Regions from separate parts of the Homo sapiens genome. Here regions 1, 2, 3, 4, 5 and 6 are each linked to region 7. The links are contacts of gene promoters, found by promoter capture Hi-C in blood cells and fetal thymus (Javierre and others, 2016). All regions are on one chromosome and are shown on one strand. Each heading gives the region's core, a stretch centred on a gene start or on the middle of the fragment in contact. The rest is flanking DNA. Distances are from core to core; before and after follow the strand shown. Region 1 overlaps SMAD4 (SMAD family member 4). Region 2 holds the start of LOC124904303 (a long non-coding RNA gene). Region 3 has its middle 5.2 kb from the start of ME2. Region 4 overlaps ME2 (malic enzyme 2). Region 5 overlaps SMAD4 (SMAD family member 4). Region 6 overlaps ELAC1 (elaC ribonuclease Z 1). Region 7 holds the start of STARD6 (StAR related lipid transfer domain containing 6).

Region 1 (2,771 bases), core at 272-2,771, 3.3 Mb after region 7:
CTAGCTCTGCTGTCCAATCAATATACCATTTACTGGTTAAAAACAAACAAAAAAACTATCAGTCTACTTTCAAATTTTTTCAAGAGCTTTTATAAACCAAGAATCATTTCTTTTCAAGAACACCATCATATTCCCAGATGTACAAGAAATTAATTGCCCTCTCTGTATGTAATATACCAAGAGAATCAAGCTTCTCTTGGCTTGTATTCTATTCAAAAACCATCCTATGATATTGCTTACTGTCCTACATTTTTAAGGCTTTTTTTTTAAAGTGGAAATTTGGTTTCTTAAAGAGCATTAATTAACTCGACTGTTAATCCTATTTGGAAAGCACTAAAGTTATAATTATTTATAACTGGCATCACCTCATTCTTTTCTAAATGGGAGTATAATCAGATGGAAGAGAGTAACATGTCACCATTGCTCAAAGTATCAAAGAAAAGGAATATTTTTCTTTTCTTTACATATCACATTTCCTTAAAGCTAAGAATTACAAAACCAAAAGCTAAAGAGAATATTTCAATACTCCCCAAATTATTTATCTGTAAAAATGACATTTTAGCAACCTCCCTTCCTACTCATCCCCCAGATTCTGCAAGTTATCTTTAAAGGTTAATTATGGTTTTGTTCATATTTTTAACAATTCTACAGGCAATACTCTTAGCTAACTTACAAAAATTGTCATTAACTACACAGGATAAATTATTTTAATTTACAGGTATTTAAAAGGAAATTCTTAAAATATTCAGGTGTCAAAAGAACATAAATTGTAAAGTGACTCACTGTAGTTATCCATACTGAATACTTCCCTTATACAATTCTAAGTATGTAAAATAAAGTTAAACAATACGACTAAATCAGCTCACGTAAAATAGCCTTTCAAATCTTCTATTTTAGTTCAACTTCTTTTCATCAATATACTTTTTGAGACCTAAGGGAACCCTCTTTTTTTTTTTTTTTTTTTTTTTTGGAGATGGAGTCTCGCTGTGTCGCCCAGGCTGGAGTGCAGTGACTCGCTCTCTGCTCACTGCAAGCTCCGCCTCCCGGGTTCACGCCATTTCTCCTGCCTCAGCCCCCGGAGCAGCTGGGACTACAGGCGCATGCCACCACATAAGGGAACATTTTGACACAAGTTCTAAAACTTACAGTATTTACGGTATTCGATTATTAAAATCTACCCAATAAATACCAGGATAAAATTAGCTGCATTTCATTTCTATCACTTTTTCTAATCTTTGAATAGGATTCAACCTCAGGAAACAACACAGTCAAAATGAAGTCACTTTAGTAAGCATTGACAAAGGCACAGAAATTCAATCTCCAGATAATATAAACAGAAGTAGGTAGCTGTGCTCTAGCACTAATCTACGTTCAAGTGGCTATAATGTACCTTCTTTTATTTTCTATCACTACCCACTGTTTGTCAACCATATTCCTAATTTGGTAAATAAAAAGTAGACAGATAATAGAAGCACCAAGTGATTAAGGAACTGGGTTCTCAAGTGCTTAACCTATATGACCCATTTAGAATATGCTGCCTATAGTGAGACTGTCATCTCTTAGATAGCAAACCAAAAACATGTTGCTTTGAAGTGGTGTAATGAATTAAAGGGGAAATTCTGGTATACTTCACTTGAAAACTCACAATTACAGAAATCAGTCCCCCATTTATTCCAAAGATCAAAATTTCTATGTTGAATCTAATCTGATAGTAAAGCAAATACAATAATGGTACTTTCGGTAGCAACTAACACAGTATTAGCCCAGAGCTGTCAAAAATCTATTCTGATGTGGGTTTACATAAATTCCTTTAGCAACTGCATGCAACTAACACCATACACATGCCAAGACAATGCTCTATGATTAATTGAAAAAAAAAAAATGAAAAAAAAGCTACTTCATTTGCCAAGCAGCAAACTATCAAACCTTTGGTTACTGTGAAAATAAGTAACAGAACCAGGTCATATGATCATGCCCCCAAAAACCTGAACCTAGCAGCCCCTCTCCCTCCTATGACATGGCAGAAAAGAAGGATCTTTCTGAAACACTTTTTTTTTTTAATTACACATATATTTTAAAAAGAGATATAGAAGTTAGCTTATATCAAAATTGACTTAATTAATGTCTATCTTGAGCAATATATAACAAATTTGTCAAGATCCCTTTGCACAGTGAGAAAATCAGACAACTACTATAAGGTAATATTGTCCCAGAAAAACCAAAATAAGAACACCGCATTAAAAGAAAGGTTGCAATTCCATTAACACAGACCTTCATAAACATCTTGGATCAAAACTACTTGTTAATTATTTAAATATTTCTCCAAAATATATCTGGGAGCTTAAGAGGCTACTTACTGCTACATGTAATAGTAAAGTATAAATCAGATCATTAATTTAAATCAATATTATAATCAAAGCCATTACTTAAATTCCAAGTGATTGTGCATACCTGTTTAATACCTGTTTACCTATGAAAGATACTACAGTTACTTTTAATGTTTACTTACTTGGAGTTTCCCCCCAAGTGACTACACATAAATAAGCAATGATTAGGAAAACTCAACTTGCTGACTACATCTGATTCTAGAACTCACTTGTGGAAGCCACAGGAATGTTGGGAAAGTTGGCAGTGCTGGTAGCATTAGACTCAGATGGGGCTAACAGAGCTGGGGTGCTGTATGTCTCTGTCGATGCACGATTACTTGGTGGATGCTGGATGGTTTGAATTGAATGTCCTTCAGTGGACAACGATGGCTGTCCCTCAAAGTC
Region 2 (2,793 bases), core at 253-2,752, 3.3 Mb after region 7:
TGAAGTATTGAGGGTAAAGACATGCCAGTATATGCAATTAACTCTCCAAGAATTCAGGAATAATCATCATACATAGGTAGAGCGAAAAAAATGATAAAGTATACACTGCAAAATGTTAATAGTTGGTGAGTCTAGGTAAAGTATTTACAGAAGTTCTTTGTACTATTCTTTTTTTTTTTTTTTTTTTTGAGATGGAGTCTCGGTCTGTCACCCAGGCTGGAGTGCAGTGGCACGATCTCGGCTCACCACAACCTCCGCCTCCCGGGTTCAAGCCATTGTCCTGCCTCAGTCTCCCAAGTAGCTGGGATTACAGGTGTGTGCCGCCACGCCCAGCTAATTTTTTTTATTTTGAGTAGAGACAGGGTTTCACCATGTTGGCCAGGCTGGTCTTGAACTCCTGACCTCGTGATCCACCCATCTCGGCCTCCCAAAGTGTTGGGATTACAGGCATGAGCCACCATGCCCGGCCCTTTGTACTATTCTTGCGACTTTTCTGTGAGTTTGATTTTTTTTTTTTTTAATTTTAGGTCACTTGTCCCTGTGATGAGGTTCACAGCAGAGCTGGAATTTGAACTCTCTGCCCACAGAGTGTGGCATGGTGCTATCTGCAACCCAAATAGCTCTACCCTGAAGCCAGGGCCTGGGAGGGCCTGCTGATCAGATGCCTCAGAGCAGCATTTCTCCTACTTTAACATGCACACAGATCACTTGGGGAGCATGTTAAAAAGTAAATCCTGATTCCTTGGATTTGAGGGTGGGCTGGAGACTCTTCATTTCTAATAAGCTCTCAAGTGAGGCCAATACCGCTGGTTCCAGAGGCAAAGCCCTAGAATCCAGGGTCTAGAACTGTGTAGGACCTAAATCTAAAATGTACTGGGGAGGGGAATAATGGAACACTAAATTATTTAGGAGACAGTTCACAGTCATGATTCTACCCACCTAAAATGCTTTGTGATGAAAGTTAAATTTTCGGACATCGTTTCCGTTGAATAAACATGTAGAGTGAGCCTACTGGTTGCCATATCTTAGAATGCAGAATTGAATGGCAATGGATATGAACTGAAACACAGTTTATCCAGTCTTTCCCTTCCCCCAGTAGACGCCAGATCAGACTTACATCTAGACAGATTTTAGTCCCTCAGGTGAACTTGGCATCTAACGGTTTTCCTCAGTGTCACAGGTACAAGAGAGAACATCACAAGCAGGGAGTGCTGGAAATGACAAGTTCATCCAAAACAAACCTGCCAGGCACGGTGGCTCACGCCTGTAATCCCAGTACTTTGGGAGGCCGAGGCAAACCATTTGAGGTCAAGAGTTTGAGACTGGCCTGGCCAACATGGCAAAACCTCGTCTCTGCTAAAATACAAAAATTAGCCAGGCATGGTGGTATGTGCCTGTAATCCCAGCTACTCAGAAGGTGGAGGCAGGAGAAGCGCTCGAGCCAGGGAGGTGGAGGTTGCACTGAGCTGAGATTGCACCATTGCACTCCAGCCTGGGCTACAGTGCTATGGTGTCATTTCAGTGATAAAAGTTAATGAATATCTGTGTTACTTTCAACTCTGAGGAGGAAAACAATCTACCTAAACACCACCAAATTATTTCCATATTCTTTAAGCATTTTTCTTATTTATTTATTTATTTTTTTTTGAGAGGGAGTCTCACTCTGTCACTCAGGCTGGAGTGCAATGACATGATCTCGGCTCATTGCAACCTCCACCTCCCAAGTTCAAGCAATTCTCCTCCCTCAGCCTCTTGAGTACTTGGGATTACAGGTGCTCACCACCACACCTGGCTAATTTTTGTATTTTTTAGTAGAGATGGGGTTTCACCGTGTTGGCCAGGCTGGTCTTGAACTCCTGACCTCAGGTGATCCGCCCACCTCGGCCTCCCAAAGTGCTGGGATTACAGGCATGAGCCACCGTGCCCGGCCTCTTTAAGCATTTTTCTTGGGAGACAACCTTGAGGAAAAATAATTTTAGCTTAGACCAGAATCACAGTTACTATTTTTTTTTAAACTTTTAAGAATAATCAAGAGTTACCTTTTTGAGGTAAGAATTAGGCCCAGCAGATGGGTATTGAAGAGAGAAGGAGACTGTGAGCGCTTGGGTGAGCACAGACCTCATGTCTGCTCCTCAGGACAAACTGTGTGTAAGGGGCAGAGAAGGGAGGGGATTCCAAGACCCAGCCCCTCCTCCAAGGAAAGATGGAAAATCCATCACTGCTCTGAGGCTCCCAGAACACTCGCCCCTCTAATGTCTGCTGTCCCTTTCTCCCAGAGCTGCTGCTGCCTCTCTGCTTTTCCTTCCTCCCCTTTCCTTTCCCTAGCCGACTTTTGCTTCCCTGGCACTTCTGACATGCTTCTCCCAGCTGCTGCCCTTGAACTGCGGCCCCCTTCCTTCCCTCTGTGCTGTACCACCCAGGGGAGCCGGCTCCCAGGATGAGCTGCAGCACAGTGCTTTCTCAGGTTGAGGGAGCCTCCTCCAGGGCTCGGGTACCAAGGCATCTACATCTTTAATCAGGAAGGAAATAGCACCACATAACCCTGGGCATAGGTGTTTCCCTCCCTCCTCCTTTTCAGGGAGGCTGGTTCCCAGGTCACCTCCTACCTGGTTCAACAATAACATCCCCCATCTTTAAGAAAAATGCTGTGGTTCAAAAGCCCCTCTGGGCCCAGCTGCCTTCCCCAGTACACAGATCATCTCCATTGCCAGGGAGCTGCAAAGTGGCTCTGCACTTGCCAGAGGCTACACTGGTTAGTTAGAATGCGGGTCCTGACTGCAGGCCTAACCACAG
Region 3 (2,700 bases), core at 129-2,628, 3.5 Mb after region 7:
ATTTCCCTCTGCTGGTTTCTACAGGCAAGAATTACACTGGCGGATATAACTCCTGGGTTAAATAAAGTAGTCATTACTCTGCAACTGGTTGTGAATTTTCTGCATGATCATCTTAAGCTTTGAAAAATACTGTGCTTTCTTGCATTTACCTTTTATCCCCTATCTGTCCAGCATTCTTGCTTGAATTGAGCTATTTCATCTTTAAATGATACTATTTTGGGCTGAGTGAGGTGGCTCACTCCTGTAATCCCAGCACTCTAGGAGGCCAAGGTGGGTGGATTGCTTGAGCACAGGAGTTTGAGACCAGCCTGGGCAATATGGTGAAACCTCATCTTTACAAAAAAAAAAAAAAAAAATTAGCCAGGCCTGATGGGGCATGCCTGTAGTCTTAGCTACTTGGGAGGCTGAGGTGGGAGGATCACTTGAGCCCAGGAGGCGGAGGTTGCACTGAGCTGAGGTCGCATCCCTGCACTCCAGCCTAGGTGACAGAGTGAGACCCTGTCTCCAAAAAAAAAAAGCTACTTTGATCCAGTAATAGTTATAGTGAGACACTAAGATGTCTCATCAGTTAAAAGACCAAGGGGAATTATATACATCCATAGGTCTCCAGAAATAATGTAAGTGTGTAGTTATTTTTCAAGTATAGAGTTTTTAAAAATGAATGTTAAGGTCTAATATATAGTAGGTCAGGGCACACAGAATCAAAACAGTACTATGATTATCCTTACTACTATTATTACTAATCTACTACTAGTAGTTTATACTTGACATCCTCAATTTGACCTAATAAGAGTTAATGAGCTATTCTAAAGGAGGAAATATAAATGAAGATATTACGACAGGAACAAGATTTTTGTGCATTTTAACAGTAACTGTTAGAAATGATTTTTAGCTCCCAACAACAGAAAACCCAATTAGAGTTGATTTATACAAATATGGGCTTTTTCACAAAAATGTGAGGGTAGGATTTAAGGCTAAACATGGCTCAATCACTTTCTGGATAATCCTTGAGAGAAGGAAAGAATCTCTTCTAAATGCAGGGTCTCTCCAGTAAATGAAGATAAAACCTGACAATTTTTGACTAGAACTATGGCTGAGCAAGAAATATAACTCCAAGCAGAGTATAAGTTATCCATAAATTAGACACCCCAATTATAGATAATCAGGGAATGATAGAAGGAAGGTTGTTTGGATTCCTATGGGGTGGGAGTGGAAGGCATGGAGGGGATGTTTGAAAATTATCTGGACAAATGCCTCAGTTCTTCAAATTTTTTCTTTTTGCTTTTGTTTTATTTTGTTCATTTACTTATTTACATCGAAGGAAAAAGCACACTTTGGGAGTGTGGAATACTTGAATTCTAGGGCTAGCTCTCACACTGTCTTAATAAGAGGCTGGATGTCTTTTTCTCCGGTTAGGTGGACACAATTAAACTTTCCCTATGTATCTCAAAGGGCATTGAAAAGAGGAATGAGACACAAAATATGCAAGAGTTTTGTGAATATTAAAAGGATACAGATGCAAAGTATTCTCATGCAGGCTGTCTGCCTGGCATATAGATGATGTTTGATAAATAATAATTACCATTCATTGAGTACTTACTATTTGCTAAGCGTTGCTCTAAGGCACCTAGTGTATTTTATTTATTTTTACTTTTTTTTTTCTGAGACAGGGTCTTGCTCTATTGCCCAGGCTGGAGTGCAGTGGTATGATCTTGGCTCACTGCAACCTCTGCCTCCCAGGTTCAAGCAATTCTTCTGCCTCATCCTCCTGAGTAGCTGGGATTACAGGTGTGTGACACCACACCTAGCTAATTATTGTAATTTTAGTAGAGACAGGGTTTTGCCATGTTGGCCAGGCTGGTCTTGAACTCCTGACCTCAGGTGATCCACCCTTGGCCTCCCAAAGTGCTAGGATTGCAGGCATGAGCCACTGTACCCCGCCCACCTCATGTATATATTAAAATTATTTAATTATCCTAACAACGCTATCAAGTAGGTATAATTATTTCTGTTTCTTTCTTTATTTTATTTTAGAGATGGGGTTGGGGTCTTGCCATGTTGCCCAGGCTGGTCTTGAACTCCTGAACTCAACGAATCCTCCCATCTTGGCCTCCCAACGTATTGGGATTACTGGCATGAGCCACCGTGCCACTCCTGTTTTTGTCGTTGTTGTTGTTCAAGATAGGGTATTGCTCTGTCACCCACGCTGGAGTGCAGTGCCAATTGTAGCTCATTGCAGCCTTGATCTCCCAGGGTCAAGCAATCCTCCTGCCTCAGCCTCCCAAGTAGCTGGGACTACTGGCATGTACCACCACAACCAGCTAATGTTTTTTATTTTTAGTAGAGACAAGGTCTTGCTATGTTGTTCAGGCTGCTCCTGAACTCTTGATCTCAAGCTATTCTCCCACCTTGACCTCCCAGAGTGCTGAGATTACAGGCATGAGCCACTGTGCCCAGCTGGTAGGTATAATTATTATCCCCATTTTACATATGGGAAAACTGAGGACTTAGAGGTTGATTCATCCAAGGGTACCACTAATAAGTGGAAAGAGGATACAAACTACACTGTACAGACTGAATATTTTAAAATATGTTTATGTACAGTTCAGTGTCTTGGAAAGATTTGAAAGTAAGCTTGGAGCATTATGTCACCCCACTCCCCAACCTGGGAAAGACTTCCCCGCTGTAAGCTGTCAATTA
Region 4 (2,844 bases), core at 217-2,716, 3.5 Mb after region 7:
GTGTGGCAAGGTATGCATCTCCCACTTGTAACAGAAACACATTAAGAGGTAACATAGTAAATAGCAAAGTGAGTTCCATTTTAATGAGTGAGAGTTTAGCTTGAAGGTGGAAAAGTAAATAATAAGAAAGCAGAGACACAGAGGAAGAAAAACTATCCTGATTCTTAATCTAGACCTAGAATTTTAATGGACTATGTTTAATGTTTAAATTTAACGTACTAGAATTTTTTGTCTTAGAAAACCTGTTATTTAATATAAACAAATCATATAAATTGGCTAGAAAACATATAAAGTAATTGTAATTACTTTATATAAAATAATGTATAAAATAATTGCATCCATCATAAACATGGACATTTTTAAAGAGAAAACTATACATTAAATCTAAAATATTTAGTGATAATAGTCTTCTACTTACCAATTATCTCACCAAAAATCAGAATTTGAAATGCTTATTTATTTCTTTAAACATTACAAATCATTGTAATTATTATGCTGTGAAGTTTTTTAAAATGGATTTCTATTTGTGGAGAAATCCATGATATGTGTGAAGGGGCAGCAAAACCATTTACATAAGGATTTTTTTTTTTTTTGAAGCTCATATATCATAAAAGTAACCATTTTAAACTGAACAATTCAGAGGCATTTCAAAAAAATTTTTTTTTTTTTTTTGAGATGGAGTCTCGCTCTGTTGCCCAGGCTGGAGTGCAGTGGCATGATCTCAGCTCACTGCAAGCTCCACCTCCCGGGTTCACGCCATTCTCCTGCCTCAGCCTCCCGAGTAGCTGGGACTACAGGCGCCCGCCACCACGCCCAGCTAATTTTTTTGTATTTTTATTTTTAGTATATAAGGGGTTTCACTGTGTTGTCCAGGATGGTCTCGATCTCCTGACCTTGTGATCTGCCTGCCTCGGCCTCCCAAAGTGCTGGGATTACAGGCGTGAGCCACCGTTCCCGGCCAAAATAGGGATTTTTTTTTTTGAGATGGAGTCTCTTTCTGTCACCCAGGCTGGAGTGCAACGGCGCGATCACGGCTCACTGCAACCTCTGCCTCCCGGATTCAAGCTATTCTCCTGCCTTAGCCTTCTGAGTAGCTGGGATTACAGGAACCCGCCATCATGCCCAGCTAATTTTTTTTCTGTATTTTTGTAGAGACAGGGTTTCACCATGTTGGCCAGGCTGGTCTTGAACTCCTGACCTCAGGTGATCCACCTGCCTCGGCCTCCCAAAGTGCTGAGATTACAGGCGTGGGCCACCGCGCCCGGCCAAAAAGGGATGTTTTAAATGTGTTGCTTGATCATTTATTCCTGGACACTGAAACACTCCAGTTTGCAAGTAACTTTGCTGAAGTTGTTTTCTGCCTCCCATACCACTTCCATCCATCAACCTTTGAAATCAAGTGTGATTTGATGTTTCAAGACCACTTGTATGAGGCTTAGAGTTTCATCAACACATCCATGTATGGATGGTAAGCCTGATATTAAATATGACGCAGTCAGGGTTAGAAGACCTTCAACATTGCCAAGAATGTTTCACTCATATTAAATAGTCATAGATGTAATTAAACTGTAAATAATTAAAGCATGAAGGACATAAATGAAAAGAATGTCTGAATGATTTAAAAGGTTTCCTGTTCTTTGTCAAAAAAGTGGAAAACACTGTACAGGTAGCCAGGCCAAGATAGTAGGGATGGTTTTGTTCACAGCTTCAAAGAAGAAATTTAAGAATTAATTGTGGGCCTTAAGAAAACACTGACAAAGAATGTAGAAAATGGGAAGAGCAGAAAGAGTAAGAGGAAAAGGCAGCAGTAGAAAATCTTCAATGTATTGTTAAAAAAATGATTTAATTTCTGAATATGTTCTGTCAGTAGAACAAAACTACAAAATCACACGTAGGAGATTTGAGACCCTTTTAAGAAATATCTGAGCTGTTCAAAAGACAGTAAGACAGAAAAATAACCAGTAGCTGAGCCTACACAAACTTTTTGAGTCAAACACAAGCCAATTACTTCCTCAGTTACCAAGGCTAACTACTGGGGAGGCATCAAACTCTAACAAATTCCTGATGGCCTTTTCAGGGGAAAGGTAACACAACATATTGAAATTATGTATTTTGCTCATCTGAATGGTCTTATTCATTAAGCAGGTGCTACATCATTATCCTCATCCTTTTTCATTGCTGGATTTTTATCATAGCCGTAATAGTGTAGCAGAAATAACCATGATGAAAAGTAAGTGTTCAGGTTTCTTTTTAGAAATTAATTTATGCTACCATCTTGATGCTTTAAGTTCAAAATACCATAAAATTACAATTTTGCATATACACTCTTTATTACTATTATTCTGTATATTTATGCTTATTATTTTATAATAAGTATTGAAGCAAATTTAAAGGTGTTTTTTTTTTTTTTTTTTTTTTTTTTTTGAGATAGAGTCTTACCCAGTTGCCCAGGCTGGAGTGCAATGGCACGATCTTGGCTCGCTACAACCTCTGCCTCCCGGTTTCAAGTGATTCTCCTGCCCCAGCCTCCCGAGTAGCTGGGATTACAGGTGTGCGCCACCATACCCAGCTGATTTTTTGTATCTTTAGTAGAGACAGGGTTTCACCATGTTGGCCAGGCTGGTCTCGAACTCCTGACCTTGTGATCCGCCCACCTCGGCCTCCCAAAGTGTTGGGATTACAGGCGTGAGCCACTGCACCTGCCCTTAAAGAGTAATTTTTTGCTATACTTTTCACTTCATGACTCCACTGAATTGTTTTTCTTAGAATAAAAAAGCAGCATTATTTTGGGCCCATTTACAACGAAGGTCTAAAGCTGCAGATGATATAACTGCCACCTAGAAA
Region 5 (2,700 bases), core at 23-2,522, 3.3 Mb after region 7:
ACTGCCCCCCCCCCCACAGTCTCGCTCTGTAGCCTAGGCCCGAGTGCAGTGGTGCGATCCTAGCTTAATCCAGCCTTGAACTCCCTGGCTGAAGCAATCTTCTCACCTCACCCTCCTGAGCAGCTAGAACTACATGCCACTACACCTAATTTTTATATGTTATTGTAGAAACAGGGTCTCGAACTCTTGGCCAAAAGCAATTCTCCCACCTCCGCCTCCCACAGTGCTAGAAATATGGGTGTGCATCATCGTGCCCAGCCCAACATATTTTTTTTAATCACATTCCTTAATATCACCACCCATCTCATCAGAAAAGTCTTTAAGTATTAAGAAACTGGCAAGTCATAGTGACAGGAGTTTCCCAAAAATCTGATTTTCACTTGAAACATCAGATTTTAGCACTGGCTATAAATGTTCTCCTCGAAGTGGCCAGCTCACTTTATTCATTTCCAAGGAATTACCTGCCAAATACTCAAATCTAAATAGCTATCTGAGCTTATCTGTCATCCTGTTAAATAAAAATAAAAATGGTGTCCCACTAAAAAGCAGCTAGTTCAGCTTGCAGCTCAATAACACAAGTGCTTTTCCTAGAAAAGAACACTGTACTTCAATGTGCAGAAATGCTTTATGCATACTTCCCATTTAATCACACTATTAAAAAGACATACTCCAAGGTAGAGATTTTTTTAAAATTAAACCTTTTTACTGCTGCAGCAAGGGGATTATTAAGTGAAACCGGCATTTTTTCAAATGCTTATGTGTGTTTGACTATAAAGAACACAATGAGGACTCATATGTTTGGTATAACTGCCTAGAGTCATTTTAAAGTGCCAGCAGTTTACCCACCACTGCTCCTTCACCACCCATACAAATGTCCTCACAGTGAAAGGGCAAATAACGTCTCAGTTTCATTATGAAAATAATTTTGATTTTGTGAACCCCTTAAATATAAGGATCCTAGGGATCTCCAGGAGTCTGTGGACCATACTTTGGGAACCACTGTTTTAAAAGATGGTGGAAACCAAACTGAATTTTAATAACTGATAACTGAAAAATACATTTTATAAAACTTTTTTTGTTTTTTTGAGACAGTCTCGCTCTGTCAGCTAGGCTGGAGTGCAGTGGCACAATCTCAGCTCACTGCAACCTCTGTCTCCCAGGCTCAAGCAATTCTCTTGCCTCAGCCTCCCAAGAAGCTGGGATTACAGGCATGTGAGTAGCTGGGATTACAGGCATGTGCCACCATGCCCAATGAATTTTTGTATTTTTAGTAGAGACGGGGTTTCACCATGTTGGTCAGGCTGGTCTCAAACTCCTGACCTCAGGTAATCCGCACCCCCCTTGGCCTCCCAAAGTGCTGAGATTACAGGCGTGAGTCACCGCACCCGGCCTCATTTCATAAAACTTTTAACTGAAGCAGAGTTTCAAGTCATCTAGCTTATTCCTTCAAAGGGGGATGTATCAAAATCCCCCGCAGGTTAGGCCAGCTCCACTAACTAGAATCAAGGGTGGGGCTGTACCTTTAAAAAACACTCTGGAAGTCTGAGGTACTGTTAGTTTTACAAAGCATTGATCTAGTCTACAATCTTTACTTTACAAATTAAGTATCATGAGTATATGCAACTGATTAAAAAGACTAATTATATAGAAGTTGTATCATTTTTCCTTACAATTAGCCAGCCCCTTCATTATTTCAGCATCTATACACATTCTTCCTTCAACTAGTTTTAGTAGGCATATTTATGATGTAAGACACACCTAATGTGTTTATGTACAATGATTCCTGGCTTAGCTTACCCCATTAAATATTATTTCCGGTCATCCTTTCACTAGATTATTCAATTTTTACAAGGACTGCCCATCTACTGATAACATATGCTCTAGAATTCACTAGTGAATATCACTGACAAATATCCTTAATTCATCTTATATTTAGAAATACATTTTGACTTGAAAAGACCTGAGTAGCATACATTCATCCATATTAACATACAGAAATAATACCTTACTATAAAAATATATATTCGGTAGCATTCCTAGTTTTAAATCATAAATAAGATTTGGCTAGCCTGGGCAACAAAGCAAGACCCCCGCCCCCCCATTTCTACAAAACAGTTTTAAAAAAATCAGCCAGGCGTGGTGGTGCCGGCCTGTAGTCCTAGCTACTCTGGAGGCTGAGGCAAGATCTCTTGAACCCAGAAGTTGAAGGTTATAGAGGGCTATGATGATGTTACTGCACTCCATCCTGGGCAACCTGTCTCTAAAAAATAGATAAATAAAGCAGTAAGGATAAGCATACCAAAATAAACAAAACCTTTAGAATCAAGAGGCACTTTTTAAAAATAACACAGATTCCCATGCCTCCTCCACTCCATTCCCATTCTGAAGCAGCATGTGTGTTGCAATCAGATGGGAAAAAATATTTTTATTTTTTTAAATAGCTCTTCCAGAGACAGAGATGAAACTACTCCATAGCCCAGCACTTGGGAACTACTTCAGGTGATGTAAATGGAGAGCTGAACATGCCCTAGATGATCTCTACAGAAGTACTAGCTAGCTGGCCTAGCTGAGCAAATGTCTCACAGTGTATTAATTAAGCCCTGACAGAAAAAGCCCAATGCAACCTGCCTCTCAGAAACCAGTTAAGTGACTAGTTAATTGGGGGCTTGAAAATGTAAGGTTTACCAAGTAGATTAACGC
Region 6 (2,700 bases), core at 59-2,558, 3.4 Mb after region 7:
CTGTCCGTTTGCATGTCAGTTTCCATCACTGGACCAAGAGATCCCTGAACACTAGAAGTATCTTTCCTTTAGTCACCAAGTGCCAGGTACTGTGAAGAGTTGTAGGAATAATGACTTCAATACTATTTATCAAGACCTAATAAGTGAGAGGCACTGTGCTAAGTTGCTAAACGTCTTATCCATTCACTAAAGTAAGTTCCATGATCATTTATATACTTAGTAGATGCCTAGTTGAACAGATATAACTAGGCATCTACTAGGTATATAAATGATCATGGAACGTACTTTACAGTATAGGGAGATAAAGAACACAGAAACAAACTAAATAACATAATTTCAGATACTGATGATGCTAAGAAGTCAATAAAAATAGGACAAAGTAAAGGAATGACTGGGGTGAGAGAGGAACTACTTAATCCAGGAGGATTTGGGAAAGCCTCTGAGAAGATGGCATCTGAGCTAAGATTTAACTGAGAAAGAGGCAATCACACAGAGAATAAATGATTACATGTAATTCTCATAACACCCTTTCTAAGTAGACTTTTTATCCCCATTTTCAAGATCGGGAAAGTAAAGTTGAAGTTTGCTGATATGCTAAGGTCACAGGCCCAAGACACAGCCAGGACTAGAACCCAGGTCTGCCTGACTCTGAGCTGAAGCTTTTCACCACTGGACTGCTCTATCTCCCAGGTGCTGGCCTCTGCTCACTCCATTCCCCCTGATTGAAATGCCCTTCTTCTCCTCAGCCCTGAAATTCCTCCTCCTCCTTTGACAATCCACAGGTCAACTTCTCTGAGAAGTTTACCCTGATAACCCCAAGAGGAAAACAACATCTCCCTCCTCCAAACATTTCCTACCCTTTGCATCCTCTCATGAAAACTATCTCCTGGTGGAGGTAAGTATGTACACTGCTTCCTTGCTAAGGCAGTGTTCATCTAATATGCCTGGTGTATCCCACGACATTTCCCAAACCCCAAGCCTACATGAATCCTTGCTTTCAGCATCTACAGGATAAATGAAAAGCAAGTAAATAAGTAAATGAAGTTCAGTGGACGTGGCCAGATGCCTGCAGGCCTTCCAAGTCTCACCAGGGTGTAGCACTGAAGTGGGATGCAACCATCAGGGCTGTTTCTAAACAAAATGTCCAAGGAGAGCCAAGAAAATGAAGCAGAACAACAAAAAAATCTTAATGAGATAGCTGAAGGCACACTAACCTGCTTTAAGTTGGCTTTTCATAAGCTGTGTCTGTGTTCCCTCCCCACAGTCAAAGAGCCAGCACTCGCCTTCACACCGAAGGACCACAGCAGAGGCACCCCGGGTTGGAGATGGGTATGCTGCACCCGTCCCCAGGAATGTCACATCCATAGACATCTTCCACCCTGCAACAGAAAGATCATCTGGGGATTATTTCATATCACTGTACCAAAAACATATTCCTGTAATATTTATCTCTATTATTACTTTTTGGTTATTTAGAACAGTCTGGATTCTTGGTCTCTCATAGTATTCCACACATATCCACAGTAAGGTTTTAATAACTTGGCTAAAACTACAAGTTAACAAATCTTGTATAATTGTTCACACACCCAAACAAACAAAAATAACCAAACCCAGGCAATTAAAAACTATAGCTGAATTCTAACTATATGATGTTCTCAAAAAGGCAAAACTATGGAGACAGTAAAAATCGTGCTTGCTAGTGATACAGGGTGAGAGAAGGAAGAATGAACAGGCAGAGCACAGGGGATGTTTAAGGCAGTGAAACGATTCTGTATGATACAGTAAGACAGACATATGTCATTATACATTGGTCAACTGTACACAGAATAAACACCACTAGAGTGAATGAGCTCTAATGTAAACTTTAGTTGACAGTGTATCTGTATCAATATTGGCTCAACAACTGTAACACATGTAGCACATTTTTCATTTTTTTTTCATGAGCCCTTAAGCTTCTGAACATATACCGCATTAATGCAAGATGTTAATAAGGGGAAACTGAGGGGTGAGGGATAAGAGAGTATATGGGAACACTCTGTACTTTCTACTTACTAATTTTTTTAAAAAAAATCCTTCTAATAAACACTAAACAACAACAACTCTAGTTGAGATACAGGGCAAGAGATGGTATTTAATGATACTCACCATATGGTGTCTCTGATGCCCATAATGATCAGCCCTTTCCCTTTCTCTGAACAATCATAACAGTAATGCTCTATTATGCTCTATAGTCATGCTGATATTTCACAATAATGCTGAACAAATGTCTCACTCCCTACATGACATGGTCCATGACTCACGAGGACTTGGGACTCTGCTATTTTAAGTGATCAGCAACAACCTGTTGAATGTGCAGGTTTATTCCAACTCCTGGCACTATTCCTTTCACTATTTCTAGGTACATCTGACATCACTGATATACTTCTGAGATGGAATATATGTATCAAACAGAATATATTAGAATGAACTGAAATTTATACATAACTGATTATAGATTATCCACATTGATGGCAGGGAAGAAAACAAAGAAGCTTAAGAAAAACTACTGTAAGAGAATTTGACTGACAGCTAGATATAAAATATACAAAAACTTCAGTAACTCTTCTCAGTCTTAGCAATAACAAGATAAAAACAGAAATGGGGGAAAAACCCATTCTAAGAGCAAAAACAAAATTACCAGAAATAAAGTTAGCAGGAAAG
Region 7 (2,700 bases), core at 96-2,595:
TTTATTTTACAAAACCTTGAAAGAGAAAGCTGTTGTATTGGTCTCCGTAAGTGGGTGATAACATTTACTAGTTATTTCAACTCACAGGACAGACAAAAAGAAAATGCACAATTTAAGTTTCATTATGAAAAGTTTTCCAACTTTTCCCCAAAAGAGTATACAAAAGTAGAATCGTTCAATAAACCCCTATGTACTCATCATCCTGCTTCCAACAATCGCTGAACAGACCCCAATTGTAGCTAAAGTGGGTAGGGACCCACCCACTTCTCCCCACTTCAGCCACAGGATTATTTTGAACCCCACATATCTCATGCAAATCCCATATATCTTACCATTTCCTCCGTACAGGCTTCAGTTCGAATCTCCAAAAGAAAATCCATCACGCGGAAGAACAGAATGTTAAACTTATTGACAACAAATTTTAACTAACTTTGATTCAAAAACAGAATGTTCAGTGTTAAATAGCCAATGGGAATATCGCACAGGAAATTAAGAACAACTCTTGGAAATAGCTCTGTGACTGCTAAGTTAGGAAAGGGAACGTTTGTTTACTCGGCAGCAGAAAACCAGGAACCCACCGACCGGCCAGCGAAGGTCGCCCGTCTCCAGCAGTGCGCATCGTTCCCCTACCCCGGGCGCCCTGAATTCCAATTTTTCCAGTCCCAATCAGGCGACACCCTCCCTTTGGTGTTCCACCGCCCGTCAGTCACAGACACAGACAAGTTCTTCAGTGAGATGCTTTTCACTCCGAAACCATTTATTCAGCAGCCAGGGCGAGCGCAGCAATGGACTGAAGGAGAAGTGTTCCGAAGCGACAGCCCCAGAGCGCAAGCCCCTTCCTGTCGCCGCCTCAGGTCCGCAGACGCCCGTGTGAGCCCCCTCCGCCGCGTCCCGCGACCCTCCCTCGCCCAGGGGGCACTCCCCCTACAGTGTTCTTCCTTCCACAGAGACTCCACAAGCGCCCTCCCTCAGGAGACGTCTCCTCCTCTTTCCTCGCCACTCTCCTTTCGCCTTTTCTCGGCTGTCACAGGATGGGACAACCCTCGAAAAGACACCCTCCTTTCCGTCCTAACTCACCCCTAAGGCCCCAAAATAAAAATAAAGGAAAACAAAAACAAAAACCGCACACTTCCACAGCTCTCCGCCGAAAGCTCAGGCCTGTTACCCAACGCGAGACACCACAAAGCATCCCCAACCCGGACACCGCCCCGCCTCAGGCTCGGCTCACTCGCAGCTTCCTCCGCAGTCACAGCAGAGCTCGACACCCGCGCTCGCTTTCAAACCGCCCCAACATGGCGCCGGCCTGCGGTGCGCATGCGCGGCAGTGGGGCGCCGGGCGCGAGCGGAGATGAGGGAGCGGCCGGAGAAGAGAGGATGCTGTTGAGCGTTAGGTCGCGACCCCTGCTGGAAGGTGCTGTTTCTCCCTCCTTTCTGGGGCTGGGAATGGGGGGATGTGGGCTGCATCCAAGTCGCTGCCCCCCACGCCCTTCCAACCTCCGTCACAGCTATTCTCGGCCAGTTTGCGCGGGGACTTGCTGATCTCCCTTCAGCCGGCCCCGGGGTCTGCGGGAGGGGACTGGGTGGGGAGGGAGACTTAAGGGCGCTGGCGGCTGTCGTTCCGGTCGCTGAGAGTCTGCCCCACAGCTCCAGTTTTTCCAAGTGAGTTCAGCCTCCCCGCTTCCAGAGCATCCCCCGCCAAAAATAAGATATCGTCTCAGCTAGTAGGCAGTCCCCCCTCACCACTTCTTTCACTCCCTCTTCAGTGCCTTTCCTCTCACACCCCGGAGCCTCTCACACACAAAGCAGATGGGAGATTGGAGACCCGAGTTTAGCCAGGGATGGGATTTAACAAACTCCTAGGAAGCCTTGATTCCCAGGGAAGAATGGCAGTGACCCCGCACGGATTGGGGACCCAGTCAGGCAGCTCAGAAAGAGGGTCATTGTACAAACAGATGTAAAGACTCACTAACATGTGTGAACCTGTCTGTAAGTCTGGAAGGAATCCAGTTTCAACCAATTGGTGTATCAAAAAAAGAGGCCATCCCAATGTTGGTTTATGTTTATTTTCCACTGACCCTATGAGTGAAGATATCCTTGACCATGAGTCCATCTGAATATGTTCCAGCTCATCCGACGTTCCACCACCATGTAATACAATTGTAGTCTTACTGTTTGCACTTTCTTCTTTTTACCCTTTGTAGCCTACTAAATTTTACCTTCCCTTTTCTCTTAGCAAATGAAAAAGTCCGGAAGCTATAACGTTCAGTTTAGTGGTTAAACACAGGTCTATTGTGGCAGTAATAGTTGGTGATTTGAAAATAAGACATACCCTGCTAGTGGTATGTCCCAATAATCTTCAAAGTCTCTAGATCAATTAATATCAAGTAGGTTTCCAATAGGAAATCAAGAACGGTGTTTTATATGCTAAGACGAGCCCTGGTCGGGGATTAACAATCCTTGTTAATTGTTAGTGACGTAAGCTTAAAAACTTAAATTTTTGTATCCACGTTCCACCTAAGTGTCTTTTTAAACTGAGTTCCTTTAAAATAGTTTCTTAAAGATTCTTTTTATAAACAGTATCTTTTAAAGTTTTTTGTACTATATTTTTCTTTCATCTTGGGGCATATATGTAGCAAATGTTTCCTAATGAAGACAAAGTATAGATAAAGGACACTGAGAAGATATAAAGAAAATTATCAA

Evidence for each region. Contacts are between HindIII fragments. The CHiCAGO score rates a contact against its expected background, and 5 or more counts as called.
Region 1: a contact is called between a fragment that was not itself captured here and the fragment with the promoter of STARD6 in region 7, in 2 of 17 cell types (naive CD8 T cells and non-activated CD4 T cells). The highest score is 7.6, in naive CD8 T cells.
Region 2: a contact is called between a fragment that was not itself captured here and the fragment with the promoter of STARD6 in region 7, in 2 of 17 cell types (total CD8 T cells and total CD4 T cells). The highest score is 6.8, in total CD8 T cells.
Region 3: a contact is called between a fragment that was not itself captured here and the fragment with the promoter of STARD6 in region 7, in 3 of 17 cell types (naive CD8 T cells, total CD8 T cells and total CD4 T cells). The highest score is 13.7, in naive CD8 T cells.
Region 4: a contact is called between a fragment that was not itself captured here and the fragment with the promoter of STARD6 in region 7, in 1 of 17 cell types (naive CD8 T cells). The highest score is 5.5, in naive CD8 T cells.
Region 5: a contact is called between a fragment that was not itself captured here and the fragment with the promoter of STARD6 in region 7, in 6 of 17 cell types (naive CD8 T cells, non-activated CD4 T cells, total CD4 T cells and 3 more). The highest score is 19.2, in naive CD8 T cells.
Region 6: a contact is called between a fragment that was not itself captured here and the fragment with the promoter of STARD6 in region 7, in 2 of 17 cell types (naive CD8 T cells and activated CD4 T cells). The highest score is 5.8, in naive CD8 T cells.

What each region holds. Positions count from the first base shown.
Region 1 is chr18:51,054,819-51,057,589 of GRCh38, reverse strand. SMAD4 (SMAD family member 4) reads right to left here. Exons shown (of 12, transcript NM_005359.6): 5 at 2,597-2,771. Among named protein-coding and RNA genes, the nearest start is that of SMAD4, 26 kb to the right of the region's middle. The HindIII fragment of the contact is 2,657 bases long and covers 193-2,771 here.
Region 2 is chr18:51,017,360-51,020,152 of GRCh38, reverse strand. All of the region lies in intron 1 of LOC107985152 (a long non-coding RNA gene), which reads left to right. LOC124904303 (a long non-coding RNA gene) reads left to right here and starts at 1,867. Exons shown (of 2, transcript XR_007066372.1): 1 at 1,867-2,793. The HindIII fragment of the contact is 8,731 bases long and covers 1-2,793 here.
Region 3 is chr18:50,872,571-50,875,270 of GRCh38, reverse strand. No RefSeq gene overlaps it. Among named protein-coding and RNA genes, the nearest start is that of ME2, 5.2 kb to the left of the region's middle. The HindIII fragment of the contact is 2,517 bases long and covers 120-2,636 here.
Region 4 is chr18:50,892,705-50,895,548 of GRCh38, reverse strand. The region is part of intron 1 of ME2 (malic enzyme 2); the gene reads right to left. Among named protein-coding and RNA genes, the nearest start is that of ME2, 15 kb to the right of the region's middle. The HindIII fragment of the contact is 5,661 bases long and covers 1-2,844 here.
Region 5 is chr18:51,035,567-51,038,266 of GRCh38, reverse strand. All of the region lies in intron 1 of SMAD4 (SMAD family member 4), which reads right to left. Among named protein-coding and RNA genes, the nearest start is that of SMAD4, 6.7 kb to the right of the region's middle. The HindIII fragment of the contact is 9,660 bases long and covers 1-2,700 here.
Region 6 is chr18:50,973,076-50,975,775 of GRCh38, reverse strand. ELAC1 (elaC ribonuclease Z 1) reads right to left here. Exons shown (of 4, transcript NM_018696.3): 2 at 1,215-1,379. The coding sequence starts at 1,371. It also overlaps a transcript of LOC107985152 not described here. Among named protein-coding and RNA genes, the nearest start is that of ELAC1, 6.4 kb to the right of the region's middle. The HindIII fragment of the contact is 1,293 bases long and covers 662-1,954 here.
Region 7 is chr18:54,356,503-54,359,202 of GRCh38, reverse strand. It overlaps STARD6 (StAR related lipid transfer domain containing 6), which reads left to right and starts at 1,345. Exons shown (of 8, transcript NM_139171.2): 1 at 1,345-1,411. C18orf54 (chromosome 18 open reading frame 54) reads right to left here and starts at 1,297. Exons shown (of 9, transcript NM_001288980.2): 1 at 1,128-1,297; 2 at 333-429. RefSeq lists enhancers at 711-780, 282-793. The HindIII fragment of the contact is 3,120 bases long and covers 1-2,482 here.